2 separate regions of the Homo sapiens genome follow, and region 2 is linked to region 1. Evidence: promoter capture Hi-C in 16 types of primary human blood cells and fetal thymus (Javierre and others, 2016). All regions are on one chromosome and are shown on one strand. Each heading gives the region's core, a stretch centred on a gene start or on the middle of the fragment in contact. The rest is flanking DNA. Distances are from core to core; before and after follow the strand shown. Region 1 holds the start of OPTC (opticin). Region 2 has its middle 22 kb from the start of ATP2B4.

What was found. Contacts are between HindIII fragments. The CHiCAGO score rates a contact against its expected background, and 5 or more counts as called.
Region 2: a fragment that was not itself captured here is called in contact with the fragment with the promoter of OPTC in region 1 in 2 of 17 cell types (M0 macrophages and M2 macrophages); the score reaches 6.9 in M0 macrophages.

Annotation. Positions count from the first base shown.
Region 1 is chr1:203,490,819-203,495,628 of GRCh38, reverse strand. It overlaps OPTC (opticin), which reads right to left and starts at 1,476. Exons shown (of 8, transcript NM_014359.4): 1 at 1,412-1,476. PRELP (proline and arginine rich end leucine rich repeat protein) reads right to left here. Exons shown (of 3, transcript NM_002725.4): 3 at 4,277-4,810. RefSeq lists a silencer at 1,755-1,983 and an enhancer at 3,371-4,169. The HindIII fragment of the contact is 16,129 bases long and covers 1-4,810 here.
Region 2 is chr1:203,601,945-203,606,979 of GRCh38, reverse strand. No RefSeq gene overlaps it. Among named protein-coding and RNA genes, the nearest start is that of ATP2B4, 22 kb to the left of the region's middle. The HindIII fragment of the contact is 2,154 bases long and covers 2,545-4,698 here.

The sequences.
Region 1 (4,810 bases), core at 227-2,726:
TCCTCTCTTAAACAACCCCATGCTCAGAACATGACTGCTAGTCACTAAGCTCGATTTAGAGAATGTCAACATCAAATAATCTTATGGGGTCTTTTTGTTTGTTTGTTTTTTTGAGACGAAGTTTCATTCTTGTTTCCCGGGCTGGAGTGCAGTGGTGCGATCTTGGCTCACTGCAACCTCCGCCTTCTGGGTTCAAGCGAATCTCCTGCCTCAGCCTCCTGAGTAGCTGGGATTACAGGCACCCACCATGCCTGGCTAATTTTTGTATTTTTAGTAGAGAAGGGGTTTCACCATATTGGCCAGGCTGGTGTCGAACTCCTGACCTTAGGTGATCCACCCACCCTGGCTTCCCAAAGTGCTGGAATTACAGGTGTGAGCCACCGCGCCCAGTTGACTCTTGTGGTTTTTTATAAAGATCATCCATTCATGCATTTGCTCAACAAACATTTATGGGTGTCTATTGAGTTCCAGGCACAGGACTTGTCTCTGTGGGTACAGAATGAATGAGGCACAGCCCTTCCTAGGAGCACCTAGTCTCTTTAGGAGACATGGACTTACAATGAAACATACAATGTAAAAAAGAATGTTAGTTTATGAAATATACTTCTAAATGCAGCTTTTTAGAAACAGATTATTACAGATAAAAGAGTTCTTTGTGTGTGATTGCATGAGTGTGTACGCATCTGGAAATTTCCTTAGATACCTGTGTATATTTGTGTGTGTGTGCACACAGATGCCTGCGTATGTATGTGATATGCATGTGAGTACAAATGTTCATGTAGTTCGTATATGTATAGACGGGTCAGGAAATGCATGTGGTGTGGTTTTGTATCCAGGCATAAGTGTATACAACAGTCATACCCAGTGTAGGCTTAACACAGCCCTCCCCAAAGCTAGCTGCACAAGTTTCTAGTAGACTCTCCCTCTTTCTTTCTTTTAAAATTTTTTTTATCTTTTAATTTTTATTTTATTTTCTATTTTTAAGACGGTGTCACTCTGTTGCCCAGCCTGGAGTGTTATGGCATGATCTCAGCTCACTGAAGCCTTAACCTCCTGGGCTCAGGCAGTCCTCCTGCCTCAGCCTCCCAAGTAGCTGGGACTACAGGCGTGTGTTACCATGCCCAGTTAACCTCCCCACCCTTTCTTAATTTTAGCTGGGCAAGGGGGCAAGCCTCTAGCAGTAGCAAGAGGTGTTTCTTCACCTTACCTCCCATACCTCACCCCAAACGAATTACATAATCTCAAAAAAAATTTTTCTAAGAGAGTTTAGTGCCCACCCAAAAGTCTTGTCCAACTTCTTTGGCCAGAGGCCTAAACTCTCTTCATTTTCCCTTCCCAATCCCCTGCCCCAGCCAAACACTTTGCCCTCATTTGCGCACCGATGGCCAGAGGCCTCAACCTTGAGCCTTACCCCTTCAATGCTTCTGGATCCTGGATGGAGAGCCCTGCAGCTTCCAGAAAGGTGGGGACTCTGGTGGAGGCTGTCTGAACTGGGGCTTGGGTTAGACAGTGGTGCCCGGGGGAGGGCAAGGAGTTGGCCAGGCCTGCGACCAATCAGACTTCTCATTCCTTCTGATGTCCAGCTGTTTCCCCTCCTCTTTCCTCAGGGGGTCCCCTGCCCCATTCCTGTATTTGACAAAAGAGAATTCTCCCCCCACCTTCCGCTTCACCCCCCACCTCCAGCTCCTGCTCTCTCTCCTCTTACTCTGTCAGCTCCTTCTTTCTTTTCCTTGTCCACTCTCCTGATAAGGCCACATCTTTGAGGAACAGGGAGTGCCATCCCCTGCAAGGAAGGGGCCCCATCCCTCAGATTCTGAGTCCTCAGAGAAGGCTGGAGTCGGGGGATATGGAGAGATAGAGCTTGTCTTTGCAGCTTCTTTCTCCAGCCAGAGAGTGACAAGGCTTCAGCTTCATAGCCAGAATCCAAAGATAAAAATAGGTGGAAATGAGGCACTTCACCCTCACCTAGAGCGCCAGCACAGAGACCATAATTGAATAAAATCACCAGAGACAGGAGCTGCAGGCCTAGGTAGTTCAAAGAGAAGGTGTATGGGGGATGAGATCGGATTTGAAAGCCAACTTCAAGTTCACAGATGATGATCATGAGGATACGGGAAATTCTCTAAATCTGCTAGGAGGAAACCAAATGGAAATTGGGAGGTGGGCCCTAGAAAGGATCATAAACACCAGTAGACATTGTGTAGGGTCTCGGGGGCCTGGGAAGTATCCTCTCCCGCACCCTCAGAGATGTACAGTCGTCCCTCAGTAACCATGGGGGATTGGTTCTGCACGTCCAGTGGATACCAAATCCACATATGCTGAGGTCTTTTATATAAAATGGTGAATTTGCACATAACCTACGCACATCCTCCTGTGTACTTCAAATCATCTCTAGATTACCTATAACACCAAACACAATGCTTACACCTCACTCCATTCACATGGATTCCACATAGTACTGGCACACAGCAAATTCAAGTTTTCCTTTTTGGAACGTTGTGAATTTTTTTTTTTTCTGAATATTTTCAATCTGTGGTTGGTTGAATCCACGGATGTGGAACCCACAGATACAGAGGGCCAACGGCATTCATCTGGAAACACTCCCCTTTCCTTGGTGCCTCGAGCAGGCTGCCGAGCAAGTCCTTGCTGAAGGCAGAGGTGGGGTGGCTAAGGAGTCTTCCCCAGCTTCTGCCAGCCTGTGCCCTGGCGCCCACCCAGGTTTCTCAGTGACTCTCCTTGTTCCCTACTCCTTTCCACCAACCAGATACTGAATTCCAGCTGTGAGGCCCCCTAAAGATCTAGTCCAAGTCCTTGTGGTATAGATGAGGAGAGTGAGGCCCAAAGAGGTGACGTGACTTGCCCTAGGTCACACAGAGCCAGGGCCAATGCCTAGATTTTTTGACTCCCTGGTCAGAGAGTTTTCTTTAGTTCATATGACCCTCCCCATTTCCACCTTCTTCCCCAGGAGTCCTGAATCCGTGTGTTTCCAGGCCCTCAGAGCAGATGGCTTGGCAGAACTCATCTCTGCCCTGGCACACCAGGTGAAGAGGCAGATCTAATAGCCTGGCCCTCGAGGGCAGCATTTGGCTTGCTGTGTTCCTGGGCTCCAGCTGGTGCAAGAGGGGGCTTCCCTCAGCCCAAGAGCCTGGTCACCAGAGAAGAGCATGTTCTTGTACCCCTGGCAGCCCCCCACCTGGGAAAAGACACCATCAGAGGCTCTGCTGGGTGGAGGGAAAGATAGCCCTGGATCCTGGAGGGCATCCAGTAGGCAGATGGCACATTTGGCGGGCTGTATGCCTCCATCTTCTCTCCACAGCCTGGGCTTTGCAGCCAGAGGCCCTCCACCCCCACAGCCAGCCTAGGCAATCTCCCCGCTCCCACCCCACACATTTATTCCTGGGAGAAATGCAAATGCGAGTGTTCATTCACTCTCCCTGCCGCCTGCTCCCACTCTCCCTCCCTGCTTTCCCAGAGACATACGCTCCTGCCATCCCTGCTTGGTTGCCACACCCCCACCATCGTTCCTCCCCAATGCATACACACCTGCTCCCCCCACTCCCTGCAGGAGCCACATCCAGACTCAGGCTCGCATCCTAGACCCTCTCCCAACTTCTCCTCTTGCTTTCCCAAGCTCACAGGTCACACACTCTTGTTCTCATGAATATTAGGGGCTGTCCATGGATGTGTACATGTGACCTGGTGGGGGAAACGGCTAACCCCGCAGACTGCTGTTCCAGGCAGCCCAGCTCCCCAAGAGCCTGGCAAAGGAAGCAGGAGGCGGGGGAGGCGTCCTAATCCTAATCTCTCATTAGGAGAGGCAAAAGGCGTGTTGATGAATCGGAGGCGGCAGGTGGTATGGACAGAAGTTTGACCAGCCAACCCTGTTGTTGCCCTTTTCATGGATAGGGAGAGAGAGGCGGGGAAGTTCAGGAACCCTCCTGTGTTTTGGATGACAGGGGTATATCCCCTGCTGAGGGCTTGTAGCCACATAACTCCACTCCATGACCGGAACATGACCCTCTCCTCTTTTTCAGACACACAAGCCCCACAGGGTAGACTCCACACCTTCCTACCTTTGTACTCATGCTGTTTCCTGTCCAGGTGGCGTCTTTTTTTCTTTCATCCACCTGGCAAAATCTGATTTATCCCTTAAGAGCCAGCTCACATGGTAGGAGTCTTTCTGGTTTTCCTCAGGTAGAGGTAAAAGCCCTTTCCTTTATACTGTTCATACACAGTAGTTTCACTCGTGTCTGTGTGAAGCGACCACCAAACAGGCTTTGTGTGAGCAACAAGGCTGTTTATTTCACCTGGGTGCAGGCGGGCTGAGTCCGAAAAGAGTCAGCGAAGGGAGATAGGGATGGGGCCATTTTATAAGATGTGGGTAGGTAATGGAAAATTACAGTCAAAGGGGGTTGTTCTCTGGTGGCCAGGGGTGGGGGTTGCAAGGTGTTCAGTGGGGGAGCTTTTGAGCCAGGATGAGCCAGGAGAAGGAATTTCACAAGGTAATGTCATCAGTTAAGGCAGGGACCAGCCATTTTCACTTCTTTTGTGGTGGAATATCATCAGTTAAGGTAGGAACCAGCCGTCTGGATGTGCACATGCAGGTCACAGGGGATATGATGGCTTAGCTTGGGCTCAGAGGCCTGACACACAGCATTATTACAAACACTTAGGACACAGAGGTATCCATTCATGGATTTCTTTCCCTTTACCAAGGTATGAGTTCCTCAAGGATGTGCTGCTATGTATATTATCCATCCTTGAATGCGTAGCTGGGGACCTGGCATGTGACCGATATCCACTGAACATC
Region 2 (5,035 bases), core at 2,372-4,871, 110 kb before region 1:
CACTCTGTCACCAGGCTGGAGTGCAGTGGCGCGATCTCGGCTCACTGCAACCTCCGACTCCCTGGTTCAAGCGATTCTCCTGCCTCAGCCTCCCGAGTAGCTGGGATTATAGGCACATGCCACCACACCAGGCTAATTTTTGTATTTTTAGTAGAGACGGGGTTTCTCCATATTGGTCAGGCTGGTCTTGATCTCCTGACCTTGTGATCCGCCCACCTCGACCTCCCAAAGTGCTGGGATTACAGGCACGAGCCACCGCGCCCGGCCCACAATGTCTTTCTTATAGATCAAGAACCAGTGTTCTTATCTCAGGGTGTGTTTTCTGCCTTCCCAGGCCTCGCCACACTCACAGTACAGGGGGCAGCCTTCATCTTCCCTTTTTGCTTGAAGCCTCAAGCCTGATGTTTCAGCAGCCTGATGCTCAATCCCAAAGGCCTTTACCTTTTTCTCAGTGCCCTCCTGGCCCTTGTAAATGTGATGTATTGGTTGTCAGCATCAGGGTTCCAGAATTCCCAGGGTAGATGTACAATTAGGCTCACACCGTGCCCCTTGCTTGTGGAGACCATGGAGGGAAGTAATACCAAAGAAAAGAGGAGAGGAAAAGGGAAAGAGCTAACGTATACTGAGTAATTTCTACAAGCTAGGCACCGTGCCTTACATAAACAGTCCTGAGTCACTTAACAAACAGAGCTACAGTCTGAGAAATGCATTGTTAGGTGATTTCATTGTTTTGCAAACATCATAGGTATACCCACACAAACCTAGATGGTGTAGCCTACTACACACCTAAGCTGGATGGTATAGCCTATTGCTCCTAGGCTATAAACCTGTACAGCATGTTATTGTACTATAGGCAATTATAACACACTGGTGTCTAAACATATCTAAACATAGACAAGGTACCATGAAAATATGGTATTATAATTTATTTATTTATTTATTTATTTATTTATTTATTTTTTGAGATGAAGTCTCACTGTTGTCACCCAGGCTGGAGTGCAGTGGCGTGATCTAGGCTCATTGCAACCTTCACCTTCCAGGTTGAAGAAATTCTCCTGCCTCAGCCTCCCGAGTAGCTGGGATTACAGGTGTCTGCCACCACGCCCAACTAATTTTTGTATTTTTAGTAGAGATGGGGTTTCGCCATGTTGGCCAGGCTGGTCTCGAACTCCTGACTGATATTATAGTTTTTATGGGACCACAATCGTATATGCAGTGTGTTGGTGACCAAAATGTCATTATGTGGCATATAACTGTATCTTAAGGTTTAATCACAGTAACATGATAGCAGTACTATTGGCCTCATTTTGCAGTTGAGAAACTGGTTGCTCAGAGAGGTTGGAGTAACCTGCCCATCAGTGGCAGGGCCAGGATTGGCACCAGGTCAGCTTGATTTCAAAATGTTGTTTTGTCTTCTAGACAACAAAGCATCATTGAAGGTGTCCAAGAGGAAACTGAGAGGCCAAAGCAGCATTTTGGGAAGATTAATATGACAGCAGTGGGTGGAAGGAATGGGAGAGAAGCAATGCCGAAGCTGTGGGGATCCACTAGTAGGTTACACAACAACGTCAGCTTGAGAATCCTCCAGGAGGACAGCAGAAGCAGAAAGGAGGTGCAGCTGTGAGAGACAATGAGAAGCAGAGATTAGCAGTCCTTGGCAGCTGAGTAGTCTCAGACTTGACAAGGAAATCCTCCTTTTTCTGATTATTTAGGGTCCTGCCATATGTTGGTGGCCTATACCAGGGATAAGGCCTGTCACTTCTACTTGAGTTATGCAGGAGCAGAGAAGGCAGGGAAACACGTGTGGTGAGAGGGTGCCTTGCTCAGCTCCTCGACAGGGCTAGGGTAGGTAGTCTGCCATCCCTGGTCAAGGCCTAGGCCTTTGGAAGTTCTAGTTACCCAGCCCAGGATATAGCATCTTGTGTGTTCAATAAATGGTAATTGGTGGTGGTGAGCTCAGAAGCATCTCTAAAATAGAGAGTGAGCCATCACTGTTTACAAGCAACTCCTCTCCCCAGCTGGTGGAAGCACATGGATCTAATGACTCCTTTCCTGGTGAGGAAACCGAGGCTCAGAGGTTTCATGGCTTTCCCACGGTCTCCTGGAGAGCCAGAGGGCAGAGTTAGGGTTCAAATGCATCATTCTCAGCTCTGACCTAGAGTCCTGTTGCCTTCCCCAGCTTGTCTCTCTTTGGTGTCAGAGAAACAGGGGGAATTAATGATAAACCTTCACATGAGTAAGGCCATTTACAGTTTACAAAACTGCTTCCCATCCATTATCTCATTTGATCCTCACAACAACTGGGTATTATTATACTCATTTTGCAGATGGAGAAACTGGCTATGGTCATTCAACTGTGACTGAAAGAGCTAGAATTCAAAATGAAGTTTTCTGACTCCAGGTCTAAGCTCTTTCCTGGAGGCCATGAGAATAAGGGAGCAAATGAAAAATAGAACAGCAAAGGGGAGAAGAAGTGTTCAGGTGAGAGCAGCAAATGCAGCATAGATGGTGCTGGAGGGCTTCAAGTTAAACACAATAAAAGCTTCTGGGCAGGAAAGATTGTTCATCACAGGTACCAGCAGCTGGGGGAAGCTGGTTTATCTGGGGAATTAGCTTGGTTTTTAGTAGAGGCTGATTGGTTGAAGAGATAATCTCTAGAAAAAATATTTCCTGCTTTCTTACCCTTGGATATTTGCCGCCTTCTTACCCTTGGATCTTGTGAAGAAAAAGAAGCAGGAGAGAGAGGAAAACACTAATGTTAGCATTTGCCTTATAGATGCCCAATAAACTATATTGAGTGGATGGTTGAATGGATGGCTGGGTGGGTGGATGAATGGATGGCTGGGTGGATGGATGAATGGATGGTTGGGTGGATGAATGGATGGATGGGTGGATGAATGGATGGATGGGTGGATGGGTGGATGGATGGATGGATGGGTGGGTGGGTGGATGGATGGATGGATGGATGGATGGGTGGATGGATGGATGGGTGGGTGGGTGGATGGATGGGTGGGTGGGTGGGTGGATGGATGGGTGGGTGGGTGGGTAGATATTCAAGTGGGTGTGTGGATGGGCCATGGATGGATGGGAGAGATTTAGGGAAATTGCACATCTCCTTGGGCAACCTCATGGTCCTATTTACAACTCTTGAAGTTACTCTACCTCTGTTTCTCCCACCCTTTAACCCATCTACATTATCTGATGCTATAAATGATGTTCTTATCCCAGGAGGAAGAATTAGTGTAGCATTCAGAGAGAAGCCAGGAAGTAACTTCCTTTGTCCCAGGAAGGTGAATGGGATGGAGTATCTCTGTCCTCCAGTTCACTTGAAGTCTCTGAAGCCCTGCTCTAACCTAATAGTCAGGATTTCTGGATCCTGGGGGACCCTCCAGCTGCTCCTGTTGGAGGGGAACAGCCATCTTGTCATGGGGTGGTAGATATGGCATTTGTGGTTGGGCTCTAGAAAGACTAAGGACCCAAGGGATCGAGAACTATGCTCGCCCGAGGTCTCTTTACTCTGCAACTTCTTTGCCCGCCTTTCAGGGAAACATTGCAATGTGGCTTTCCCAAGCTAGTATGGGGTGGGGGTTGGGTAAGGCCAAAGGGTTAGAGATGATCCATACAGGGTGCACCTTTGTCCTCTACCTATGGTCAGTCCCTACTTGTCACCAGTAGAACCAGTAACTCTGGCCCTAAGGCTGCATGGCAGTCTTATACTGGAGAATTCATGGGACAGGTGTCCCGGTCCTGGGTTCTGATTCTAGCTCTGTCACTGAGTATGTCCAGTGTATAACACAGCATCTGCATGTAGTAGATGCTCACTATATATCCAATGAGAAGGCAAGGCGCAGTGACTGGCTCACGCCTGTAATCCCAGCACTTTGGGAGGCCGAGGATGACGGATCACCTGAGGTCAGGAGTTTGAGACCAGCCTGGCCAACATGGTGAAACCCCATCTCTACTAAAAATACAAAAATTAGCCAGGCATGGTGGTGGGCGCCTGTAATTCCAGCTACTTGGGAGGCTGAGGCAGGAGAATCACTTGAACCTGGGAGGCAGAGGTTGCAGTAAGCCAAGATCACACCACTGCACTCCAGCCTGGAGTCTCTCTCTCTATATGTAGACTATATATATATATATATCTTCAATGAGAGAGTGAACAAATGAATGAAATAATTAGCTGTGACCTTGGGCAGATTACTTTCCTCTTCTGGACCTTGGTCTCCATACCTGTAAAATGGGGATAATAATGCTGGCTCTGTCTCCCACTTACAGCCATCCTCAGCCTTTGGGAGTAAATGAACAGATAGATGTGAATGGTGTTTATGTATCATCCCACTCAAGGGACTACATGGTGGTTGGCATTTGCTGCCCCATGCCCCTGCACCTGCACATGCTAGCCAGGTCTGCTGCTCATCTCACGCATGCCACAGCCCACACCTCTCCAGATCCCTGCTATCCTGTCCCATGGAACTTGGTTGTCCCACATCCCCCACTTTCAGGGATCTGGCTCTGTTAACATGAAAGTGATACTATTTACCCTTTATTAACACCTATCTGTTGAGCATTTAGGTCATTATGTCCTCATAACGGTCCTCTGAGGGACTCACTGTAGTGAAGTGACCTGCCCAAGGCCACATAACACTTAAGTAGTAGAGCCAGGATTCCAGCCAGGTCTCTGAACCTGCTGCTGAAGCTTCTGGCCTTGTAGCTGTAAATTCTTGGTCTACCCAGGGCGGCAGTTTCATTCAGTGTGGTGAAGAAAGTACAACAGTCGGAGGTGCAAGACCTGCATTCAAGCTTAGGCTTGACTGCTACTAAGCTGGGTGTTGGCCGGGTGGGGTGGCTCATACCTGCAGTCCAAGCACTACAGGCCGAGGCTGGTGGATTGCTTGAGCCCAGGAGTTCATGAGACCAGCCTGGGCAACATGCCAAAACCCCATCTCCACAAAAAGTACAAAAATTAGCCAGGCATGGTGGCACATGCCTGTAGTCCCAGCTACTTGGGAGGTTGAGGTGGGAGGATCGCTTGAGC